3 separate regions of the Homo sapiens genome follow, and regions 1 and 2 are each linked to region 3. Evidence: promoter capture Hi-C in 16 types of primary human blood cells and fetal thymus (Javierre and others, 2016). All regions are on one chromosome and are shown on one strand. Each heading gives the region's core, a stretch centred on a gene start or on the middle of the fragment in contact. The rest is flanking DNA. Distances are from core to core; before and after follow the strand shown. Region 1 has its middle 120 kb from the start of SNORD3F. Region 2 has its middle 150 kb from the start of LZTS1. Region 3 holds the start of FGF17 (fibroblast growth factor 17).

Region 1 (3,790 bases), core at 833-3,332, 1.5 Mb before region 3:
CTCATGATCATCTAACCTGGCCCTTGCCCGCCTTTCTCCTAAAATGAAACTTCTACTTCTATCTTGCTGGTTTCCTCACTTGTTCCCAAAAGATGCCATGCACGATGCTTGCACCATTTCCCTTCCTAGACTCTGTCCTCATTGGTCTCCCCTAAGGCTATCTAAATCTATGTGGTCCTCAAGGGAGTGGAAGGAGCAAGTGCTTTGGATTTAAAAGTCTAGGTTTAAGTCTTAGATCCTCACCTTACTTAAGTTGCGCGACCTTGGGTAAGCCATTGAACATGTCTCAGGGTCAATTTCCTCACCATTAAATATGGGACAATAGCAACTACTACACTAGCTTGTCACGAGGAGTAAATATGATAACTAGGTTAAACTCCCAGCACAGACCCAGGCATACTTTAGTTTGCTCAACAAGCATTGGCGATTGGATTCCTTCACAACCTTAATATGATCTAACCAGAGAGCCATTCAATGCACAATTATTGAAAGCCTGTGATGCACATGTACCTGCAAGGGATAGTAAGGTGCAGGAGTTACAGCTCCCCCAAGGATGATAACAGTTGCCTTGCAGCTTTCCCAACCTCCTCAGTGTGCAGGCCCCTCCCCACCTCTCCCTCCTGGTATCTCTACTGCACAGACCCATGCTCCATCTGAACACCAATCTCTTAGGCATTGCTATTTACATCTTCCTACATATCAGTTATGCCTCTCCATGTCAATTGTGAGCTGCTTGAGGGGAGAGACTTCCATATTCTTCCCTGTCCCCATACAACAGTTAACACAGGCACATGCCCTGTGCTCTCTAAGTAATTGCTAAATAAATACATTTTAAAGGAATGTTTGTGATCCTTGATAACACCGAGCAGTTTTCATTTTGCAGGCTGACACCTGTTGGAACCATAACATCAATTTTGCGGGCTGTGACATCAAAATGCCCCTAGTACGCATGAGTATTATTTGCTGAAACTTTCGTTTTTGTCTTAAATGCCTGTCACAGGCTGGGTTGTGGTTTAAAAATAAGTTTCTTACTTTTGATCATGGTTTGAAAAAAGAAAAAAAACAGTGACAGGATGCGTATGACAAGGCTCCTAGCTTGGATGCTGAGCCCCTTGTGGGCAGAATCAAAGACATTGGGCACCAAGACCTCCCAGCTGGAGAGGAAGCAACTGGTTTCAGAAAAGCTCTCCTGGGGTTGGGGCGGATTAGAAGACAGGCAGTCAAGAGAAGAAATGCTCAGGGGCCTGAGCACAGTCGCTCAAACTGCTTATTGTCTGGGCAACAAATAGGCACTGCAGGCGCACCTAAAAACCTCAAGTGTCTTTCCTTCAGAAAGACACAAAGCACTTAAGACCCTGCAATTGCTCAAGATTTTCCTCTAGGGATCCTTGTTTTCTCTAGAGCTTTAGATTGTAATAGAAACACCGTTGCCTTCATTCTTTTCTCACTTATTAAGCTGAAAAAGTAATCTGGAATCTTTAGCCTTTGGAGATTTGGCGATAATTTCTTGATGCAAAATTTGTATAGACAGCTTGACCATGATTGAAAGACCACATGAAAAAATCCTTGAAATTGAAATTGAAATCCTTGAAACTCAAAATTCTAGGACTGGAAATTCTTATCACCTATAGATGCTTTGAGGTTGAATTCAAAGTGTCATTGACCCAGGCACTGTTGGGAGTAGGAAGCCTTTTTTCTTAGGGAATTTGAGCCTCAACCTCTGTCTGCACTTTGCAGCATTGGCTGTGATGGGGCTTGTCTTGGCTGTGATGGGGCTTGTCTTCTGGTTCCATGTTCTGGACAAATGCTTCCACCTTTCTTTCTGGAACGCCTGCCTAATGTCTGGCTGTCTGCTGTTTGTACTCTGAAAACTACTTTAATTGGGAAGGTAAAATACAGTCTCAAATGCCCTTTTTGTGCCTTGTGAAAGCCCTCTAAAGCTTAGCTTAACTCAAAGAGCTTAAATCAATAGCACCGGCCCATTTTCTAATCACAGGGAATTTAATAATGATCAGGAAAGCCATTATCAGTCTGATCTGTGGGACTGTTTGGACTTTAACTCTTGGAAAACAGCTTCCTGTCAAACTTACATACTGTTATCATATAAAATGTCACTGAGAAGGGTATTAAAATCCCTCTTTGGAGAGAAAGCCTTATAGGGGTTCTATCAAAACTACTCTGTATGCTGATGAGTTAGGTGCTAGGAGAGAGAGAGAGCTAAAAACAAGCTTGGAGGTGGAAAGGAGGGAATTGTTCTCTTTTTGCCACAGCACACCCAAATGGAGAAGGGGAGGCTTCTTGGTGTCTGGGTCTGTAATTCAAGAAGTCCCTTGAGACACCTCAGCCCAGGGGCTGGAAAGTTCACGTCTATCCGCTGAGGCCTGGGAAGCCTGTTGGGGCCCCTGAAGGGAAGGGTGAGAGGAGAGCAGCCATGTCGCTCCATGGCTCCTGGCAGAAGTGTGAGGCTCCTGGACTCTGGTGACTTAGCCCCATTTACCATCACAGAGACATATAATACAGGCATTTGCCTACTTAGATCCCAGCCATGTGAGTTTTGGAAGTCTGCTGAGGTGAATTTCAACCCTGGTTACCATAATGCAGTTGGGCCTTTTGTGAGTTGAATGTGATGTTGTTGTTTTTAGGGATTAAATGTTCAGAGAGAACCACTGACTTGGGGTTAGATGGTTGGCCTTTAACAAAACCCTAAAGGAACAGGGTGTGAACAGTTACATAACAAAAGATAAGAGGAACTACTTGAAAAGCTGAGTTGGCCAGCATGGTGGCTTATGCCTCTAATCAGCACTTTGGGAGGCTAAGGTATAAAGAGCACTTGAGCCCAGGAGTTCGAGACAAGCCTGGACAACATAGTGAGACCCCTCATCTCTATAAAAAAATGTTAAAAAAATAGCTTGGTGTGGTGACACGTGCCTGTATTCCCAGCTATTCACAAGGCTGAGGTGGGAGGATTGCTTGAGCCCAAGAGGTTAAGGGTTGGCCAACTCTCTGCACCTGGGTTCTTCCAGCAGCCAAAGACTTGTAGAGAAGAGAAATGAGTGCATGTGGGCTCCGGGGGGCACATTCCTCCATTGTGTGCTCACATCAGACAGTCTCCACGATCCCAGCCAGCTCCTGGGGCTGTGACCTCCTGGGGTCCAGAGTCTTTCCTGAGCCACTGCCATGAAGCCAAAGTCCCCAGAGTGAAGCTGCCTGCACTGTGTCCTATGTCACCAGCCCTGGTTGCCCTACTTGACACAAATGGAGACCCCATCTCCATCTGACTTGTTTAAGGTCTTAAGTCTAAAACCTCAGCATCTTCACAACTCCACTTGCCTTATCCCTCCCCCACCAGATCCCCCCCCTCCAGGACTGCTAATCTCTCCTGCTGGGATGCACGTGCTCCCACCCCACATTTTGCAGGTTTTAACCCCTTTGGCTCTTTCAGATAGGCCTTAACCTCCTTAAGAAACTTATAACACATGGAGAGCGAAGGCCCAACACTGATTTTACATATTAGAAACTCAAACTCCGAGGTGGTCCGTGAGACCCTGTGGCTGGTCGGTGGCAGCAGGTGCCCAGGACACTGGCCTGGGCCTTATTCCTGGCCTGTGTGCCTTCTGTGTACCACCTGCCTGGGATGTCTCCATGTTGTACATAGAGAAGACTCTGGAGGGGGCCTTAGTACAAGCTTTGTTGCCCCAAAACTGAGTGATTGAGGGAAATACTGCAATCCCTCTGGTCTTCCTTTCTTTTTCTGTAAAATGAGGATAATCATGTCTAATTTGAAGCTTAA
Region 2 (3,789 bases), core at 586-3,085, 1.6 Mb before region 3:
AAATGTGTAGCATGAGTCCTTGGCTGATGTATGGAAAATGGAGCTTGGAGTGAGAGTGGTCTTCATGAGACTTTTTGACAGTCCACAAGTCAGTGCCTTATTTTCAGAGGGTGATTGGCGTTTGCTGTAGGGTAAGGCTGACTGCCCATCTATGGGGTTTCCCAGGTGTTTGGGGTGGGACGAGAGTGAGGGGGATCAATGGTTAAGAGGTAACCTGCCTTCCTTGTTACGCCGGATGGCAGGCCTCTCTCCCTGGGATTTTCCCAGCAGTCTTTACGGAAGGCTCTTCTGCTGGAAGTTACAAAGAGCATGAGGTGATGTGTGTGGGAGAAGCAGTGCTGAGGTTGATGAAGAGCCGCCAGCCGCCTGCAGGCCTGGAGGGGGCCATTTCTGCGTTGCTGTGCGGTCTGCAGGGTGATCGAGGGAGAAGGGATGACGGATGGGAGCAGGGCTTCCTCCCTGCCTTGGTCTGCTGGTTGGCCCATCACTCACACCCCCTGATGGACTGCCTCCTTCCACAAAGGCAGGGCTATAGGGTGGGTTATAGATGAGCTGCTGTAAAAACTACTTTTTCTAATTACATTTTTGAGCTTGGGATGTGGCTGTCCATGGGAGGTGGGAGGTGCCTGATTCTGGAGGAGGAAGTGGAGAAATAAAGTGAGAGGAGAGTGTGGGAGGTTCTTGGGTTGTGTCGATAACTCTATTTAAACAGCTAAGAAGCATCTCTGGGTTTCAGGACTGGCTGTGGGTGAAACCATGACTGGGCTTTGATGATCTTTCCTGGATTCACTCACTTATTCACTCAACAAACACCTCCTGAATGACTACAATGCGTGAGGCACTGTGTACAAGGCATTCTCTAGACAGAACTTGTCGTACTTTATTTTGCATGTGAAGCACTCATGGATTTTTTTTTTTTTTTTTTTTTTTGAGACAGAGTTGCTCTGTCATCCAGGCTGAAGTGCAATGGCATGATCTCGGCTGACTGCAGCCTCTGGCTCCTGGGTTCAAGTGATTCTCCTGTCTCAGCCTCCCAAGTAGCTGGGACTACAGGTGCATGCCACCATGCCCAGCTAGGTTTTTATTTGTTGTTGTATTTTTAGGAGAGATGGAGTTTCACCATGTTGGGCAGGCTGGTCTTGAACTCCTAATCTCAAGCAATCCTTCCACCTTGGCCTCCCAGAGTGCTGGGATTACAGGCGTGAGCCATCAGACGCAGCCACGAATTTTGTTAAAACAGAGTGTGTTTCAGTGGTTATGGGGCAAGGCCTGAGACTCTATATTCCTGACAAGCCCTGATGTCCGCCAGTGCTCCTGATCCACAGAGCATACCCTGTGTGATAGCAAGAGCCCTGGACACACAGTCAGGTACGACGTGGCCTCCCCACATCCATGTCATTTACATTGTGCCTCGAGGGTGAGCTAGATTTTTATAAGTAAGAAGAGGAGGAGAAGGAGGCTGGGGAGAGTGGGGAAGATGCTTTCCAAGGCTGATAGAAGAGTGTGAACGGAACATGCTCGTGGGCAGGTTAGTTCCGAGAGAGAGGAGGATTTCTGGACCATCCCATTGCCAATGAGTTTGGAGCCTTTTCTATAGCAAGTGAGAAGCTATATTCAGAAGGGAGTGAAAGATCTAACCTGTATTGTGTGCACTTCCTTGTGGGGGCCTTTAGAGGGGGCTGGACAGAAGCTGAAGGCAGAGTGGGCTGCGAGGTCCTCTCAGGTCCTGGGGAAAGGCGAGGACACACGATAGAAGCTTGCTCGGGGTGTGGAGAGCTGGCAGACAAAGCTGCACTCCTCAGCCCGGGTGCTAAGCTCACACCACCCTCTGTCTCCTTGTTCACCCCAGAGGCATCAAGCTCTATGTTTTCAGCTTTTTTTCATGAAAATGAATCCTGTTGTTCTATCCTGAATACAAGCTTTCTGAAGACAGGGGGCCTCTTTTGTACCTTGCAAAGTAGCTTGTACTTAGCAGGTGCTCATTAAATATTTGTTGCTGACAAGCGTTTGAGGAAAGTGATGAAGATGGGCTAATTCGCATGATCCCTTTAATGATTTGATCTGATGGCCTACAGTTTTATCTTTTAGGTTGCTGTCCTCCTCTCTCTCTCCCCGTTTGGTGGGAACATCTCAAGGTAGCAAGATTGAAAGGCAGTTGCCACAGAAGACGTTAAAACATACTTTAAGAGATGAATGTGTCACTTCTCCCAGGAGCAGTTGCTTTTAAAGAGAAGATAGAAGAAAGCCACTGGTGCTGGCTCCCCACCCCCTCTGCCCCCAGCCTCTCTTTCTCTCTCTTTGTTATTCTGAGACAGGGTTTCAGTCTATCACCCTGACTGGAGTGCAGTAGCATAATCATGGCTTACTGCAACCTCGACCTTACAAGCTCAAGTGATCCTCTCACCTCAGCCTCCTGAGAAGGTGAGACTACAGGCATGCACCACCACATCTGCCTGATTTTTTCCTTTTTTTTTTTTTGAGACGGAGTCTCACTCTGTCGCCAGGCTGGAGTGCGATGGCACAATCTCGGCTCACTGCAACCTCCGCCTTCCAGGTTCAAGTGATTCTCCTGCTTCAGCCTCCTGAGTAGCTGGGACTACAGGTGCCTGCCACCATGCCTGGCTAATTTTTATATTTTTAGTAGAGATGAGGTTTCACCATGTTGGCCAGGATGGTCTCGATCTCTTGACCTCGTGATCTACCAGCCTCGGCCTCCCAAAATGCTGGGATTACAGGCATGAGCCACCACACCCAGCCTTTTTTCTATTTTTTATAGAGATGGGGTCTCACTATGTTGCCTAGGCTGGTCTTGAACTCCTGGGTTCAAGCGATCCTCCTGCCTTGGCCTTCCCAAATGCTGGGGTTGTAGACCTGAGCCACCATGCCTGGTCATCTTTCCCCAGTCTTAGCATGTGGATGTGAGAGCTGGAAGATTCCCAAAGACCTGGCCGGAGACTCCTGTTTGAAGGAGGAGAGGGAAGAGCCTTAAGGGGTTCCCAAGGTTGCACATCTGGGCAGGGACAGAACATCAGACACATTGTACGGCTGCAACAGGCTGGCACTGCTGACATCACAGACATCAGGACAGACCAGGAAGACACCCATCAAATTCTGGGCTGGAAGATACGGAATACTCTGACTTTACCCAAGGCTGAGCCTTCCTCAGAAGCTCCTGAGAAGAAAAGAATTCAGGGGCCTCATGAATGAGGCTCAGAAATTTGGTGCAATAATCACCAATGAGCCCCAACCCAGGGAAGTGTAACGTATCACCCCAATTTTATAAGGAAGAACACTGAGGCTCAGAGAGGTAAAGTAACCCATCCAAGAGTCATAGAGGGGGATCGTCTGGGTCCAAAGCACAGCAGCCTCATGGGGAGCACCTTGTACTGTGTCCTGTGCTACCCATTGGCAATGCAGACAGCAGGGGGGATGCGTGCATCTGGAGGAAGATTAGCATCAGCATTTCACCTGAAGCCTGAGGGCTCAAAGGAAAATGTTTTACAGGTAGCGGTAGCTCTTCAGAAAACCAGGGAGGGAAGTGACCAGGGATGTGTCTCTGCTTCTGCATGGCGTTATCATGCAAGCTGTGCAGTGTGCCCCAACTCTCAAGATCGGAGTCACTGCAGACCACCACCCGCAGCCCCAAATCTCTACCCTCTGGAAGGACGGAGAACATATTCAGGTGCAGACCTCAGCCCTCTGCATGCAGTAGAGGTGAAATAAGTCATCGTGGAAGGAATGAGTGAATGGAGAGAATCTGCGCTCAGAATCCCAACGATGGAATTGGAG
Region 3 (3,663 bases), core at 1,095-3,594:
GAGCCACAGCTGTCTTGCCTGTGACACAGGCCATCCAGCCATGCCCAGAGCTAACCCCCTGGCTAAGCCCCGAGGCCCAGCTTGACTGCTGGCATCTGTTACCATGGAGACCCAGGCTGGCCTGAGGGCTGGGCCAGTGATGGCAGGCCCTGTCCCCATGGATAGAAACAGGTGCTTGGGCTCAGAGGCCTTGAGTGGCTCCCACTGTCCCCATGGCCAGTGAGTCCCGACAGCATAAATTGGAACCGTTACCCACCTTTCGCCCCCCAGCTGACACCTCCACCAACCCAAGGCCTGAGCTGTCCCCTCCACGTGTCTGTGCTCTCTTTAATGCCCTGCCTGGGGGCTGGGAGTGGTGAGGATGTGGATGTGAGGTTGAAGGTTTCTCAGGGAATGAGCCAGAGCTGCCAGAAGAGGCAGAGTGTAACCCAGACTGCAGATGATGGGAAGAACGCGGAACAGAAGTGACCTGAAGGATCCGCAGGGGGAAAGCAGAGAGGTGGGCACGCGGGCACCTGGTACCTTGTCCCAGCCATGCCACCAGCTAGCTGTGAGGCTTTGGGCGAGTCCCTTGCCCTCTCTGGCTCTCATCCAAGGAATGAGGAAGTTGGAACAAATGATGAATCCCTAAGACCCCTTCTAGGTTTGACATTCTTTGAGTTGCATTCCAAAACCCTGGACTCCCCCAGGTAAGCAAGGCCAGGGCTTGCCCCATCCTCCCCACACAAGCTCAGGCAGCACCCACTCCTGGGCTGGGTTCCCGAGGAAGAGCCTGCGGAGAGGAGACCCCGGAGCTGCCTGCACTGGTCAGTGCATGGGGGCAGGGGTGGCAGACCACTTTGTGGATTGATGGAGCTCAGGAAGGTGAGAAGGGACCCACAGGTGAGAGTTTCGCTCCCCTGGTCATCTCTTTAGGTAAATAAATCCACATCCGCCACTTCCCCTTCCCTTCCCACCCTGGGGGCGCTGAGAACTCCAGGGAGCCCAGAGCTGAGGCCTGAGCTCTGCTTGCTCACACTGGGTCTTCCCTCAGAGACCCCCAAGCCCTCCTATCTTCTGCAGTCACCGTCATCCACTTTTCTGTAGGGAGGGAACAGCATGGAGCTCTCTGTTCACCGGTCTCCAGGACCTCGGATTCCACCTTTAATCCTGAAAACCCAGGAAGGCTTCTGTATCCCTACAATGAAGCAGGTTTGGGGCTGGATCTGCAGGGTGGCAACTCAATCCATGCAGAACAGAAGAAGCATGGACTTTTCCATTCTGGCTATTCCATTCACTAGCTGGGCCATTCTGAGCAAACTACCTCCCAATGTGCCTCAGTTTCCTCATCTGCAAAATGGGCTAGTCGCTGGCATTGTACCGAGCAGTATGAGACCGGAGGTCATGGGAAGAGGCTGGTAGGCACTTCATCCCAGGCAGCTGCTCAGGGACATGGGACACAGGGAGGGGACTCCGAGCTGCTCCTAGCTCAGAGAGGCTCTAGGGACAGGCACTGGAAGGAAGGGGATGCAGAATGGTGAGTGGAGCTGGGTCTCAGAACACAGACATCTTGAAGTCTGCTATGTGCTGATTTCACACTTGACCCCCCAACACCCTGAGGCATTACTGTCCTCATTTCTCAGATGGAACTACAGAGGCCCAAGGAAAAGGGGCTTAGGCCAGGACACCCAGCTCTTCTCCAAGTGTCTGTCTCAGGCTAGCTTTTGCAACTCTCCATTGGGATTCTTCCTAGATCTCCATCTGTACCTGCCAACCCACCTCTGACCCCCAACCTGTTGCGCCCAGTATTTGCTGCCGATCAGGACAGCCTTAACCCCTCCTTCCCGGGCAATCAGCTGCTCCAAGCCAAGCCCACCCCTGCCCCCTGGAGGGAGGCGGCTCCTTTTAAGGCTGCTTCTGGGAATTTCCACTCCAGAGCCAGAACCAGAGACCCCAGCCCCACTTGACACCTGCGGCTCACCCTTGGGGAGGTGGGGCGCCAGACCTGAGTGCAGGAGACGCAGACCTGGAAGGGCTCCCCCTCCCTGACCTGCCACACATCGAGTTTGTCTGCGTCGAGTTTGGCCAGTCTGTGAGGGTCAGGAATAGAGCAGGAGACAGCAGGGCCACCTCCTTCAGAAGGCCCCCACCGCTCCATCCCTGCACTGGGTGGCCCAGGAGAGACTGGCAGCCCAGAGGGCACAGCGCGCACGCCCCCACCCGCATCTGCTTTGCAGCCTCACTGGCCAGGAAGGTGGACACCTCATACCTCAGTCTCCCAATTACGCCCTCCTCCTCCCCCTCCTCCTCCCTCTTTTCTCTCCTCCTCCTCCCCTTTCTCTCCTCCTCGCCCCCCTGAAAACCTGTGGCTCGGAGAGACCTTGGCTTCTCTGGGACTCTACCCCTGGGGACTTCCCACATCTGCTCCTGAGCTTGGGGGCAGGGGGGCAACCGCCTGAGGAACCTCTCCAGCGATGGGAGCCGCCCGCCTGCTGCCCAACCTCACTCTGTAAGTGTGCTACCTCTCCCACTGGAGTTTCGTTGCCATTTCCAGCCTCAGGGCAGCCCTCCTCTTCCCGGGACTCCCACGCGTGCGTGCACGGGGCTGGCAGGGCGGGGGCGGGGGCCTGGGTGCACCCTAGGCTTGCAGCTGGCACCCACACCTGGGCTTACCTCCTCTCCCCACACAGGTGCTTACAGCTGCTGATTCTCTGCTGTCAAACTCAGGTAGGCGGGCATTCCCACCGGCTTTCCCCCAATTTTTCCACCCTACCTGACCAGGGCGGGTGCAAGGGACCGGCTCCTTTCAGGTGGACAGAGGCAGAGTCTGGCCTCTCCCTGGGTCCAGGAGGCACTGAGGTTTGGAGGGGAGTGAGCCTTTGACCGGGTGGGCAGGGAAGGGGGCTGACTGAGGTTTTGTCTCTGTCCTCCCTCTGAGGACCCTCCCCACTTCCCCTGGGTCTCTGCTCCTCTTCCTCCCTCTCCATCGGGTTCCCCCAGACTTGAGGGATGGAGCCTGGAGCGGTTGGAAGCAGGTGGAGGTGATGGCTCAGGTGAGGCTTGGGTTTGCCAGTACCTGAAAGGACAGGTTTTGATGCAAGACCACTTGTATGTCCTTCTCGCCACCCCACTCCCATCAATATGGATGCCTGGGGTGGGGGTCTCGTGAGCATGTCCAGAATGCCTGGCCAGGGTGAGGTGACTCCTCACCTAGAGGGCACAGAGGTCAAGCCCAAAGAGGTTTGTTTGGGACGGGATGCAGGGTTCGCTTCTCCACACTCCCCCCACCCCAAGTCGGCCCCCCACCTCCCTCCATGCACACCTCCCACCCCCAAGTCTCAGCCCCCAGTGCGAGGCTTGCTCCCTTTTTTGTGATCCTCCATAAAAGTGCAGCTATTAAAATGCACTGGTCCAGAACCGCTCTGGGGAGAGATCGCTTGGCTTTCCCAGGCCAGAGGCCCGCTTCTCTTCATATCCAGTGGGGACTTTTTTTGAAGGTAAATGCCTTTTCTCTGGGAGAGGGAAAGGGGCAGCCTTTGAAGCAGTGGGGGGGTGGGAGAGGGAGAGACAATTCCCCCCCCCTTCCTTCCCCCTTTTGCTCCAGCCCCGTTCCAGGCCTTTTGCTTCACACATCCAGGGGGAGCCAGAAGAAAGCCCCCAGCCTGGCTGGGAGGGGGCTGGGGG

What was found. Contacts are between HindIII fragments. The CHiCAGO score rates a contact against its expected background, and 5 or more counts as called.
Region 1: a contact is called between a fragment that was not itself captured here and the fragment with the promoter of FGF17 in region 3, in 4 of 17 cell types (naive CD8 T cells, non-activated CD4 T cells, naive CD4 T cells and 1 more). The highest score is 7.0, in naive CD8 T cells.
Region 2: a fragment that was not itself captured here is called in contact with the fragment with the promoter of FGF17 in region 3 in 4 of 17 cell types (total CD4 T cells, naive CD8 T cells, non-activated CD4 T cells and 1 more); the score reaches 8.6 in total CD4 T cells.

The regions. Positions count from the first base shown.
Region 1 is chr8:20,492,351-20,496,140 of GRCh38, forward strand. No RefSeq gene overlaps it. Among named protein-coding and RNA genes, the nearest start is that of SNORD3F, 120 kb to the right of the region's middle. RefSeq lists an enhancer at 1,006-1,544. The HindIII fragment of the contact is 288 bases long and covers 1,939-2,226 here.
Region 2 is chr8:20,452,331-20,456,119 of GRCh38, forward strand. No RefSeq gene overlaps it. Among named protein-coding and RNA genes, the nearest start is that of LZTS1, 150 kb to the left of the region's middle. The HindIII fragment of the contact is 163 bases long and covers 1,755-1,917 here.
Region 3 is chr8:22,040,476-22,044,138 of GRCh38, forward strand. It overlaps FGF17 (fibroblast growth factor 17), which reads left to right and starts at 2,345. Exons shown (of 5, transcript NM_003867.4): 1 at 2,345-2,488; 2 at 2,670-2,706. The coding sequence starts at 2,454. RefSeq lists an enhancer at 3,103-3,663. The HindIII fragment of the contact is 13,376 bases long and covers 1-3,663 here.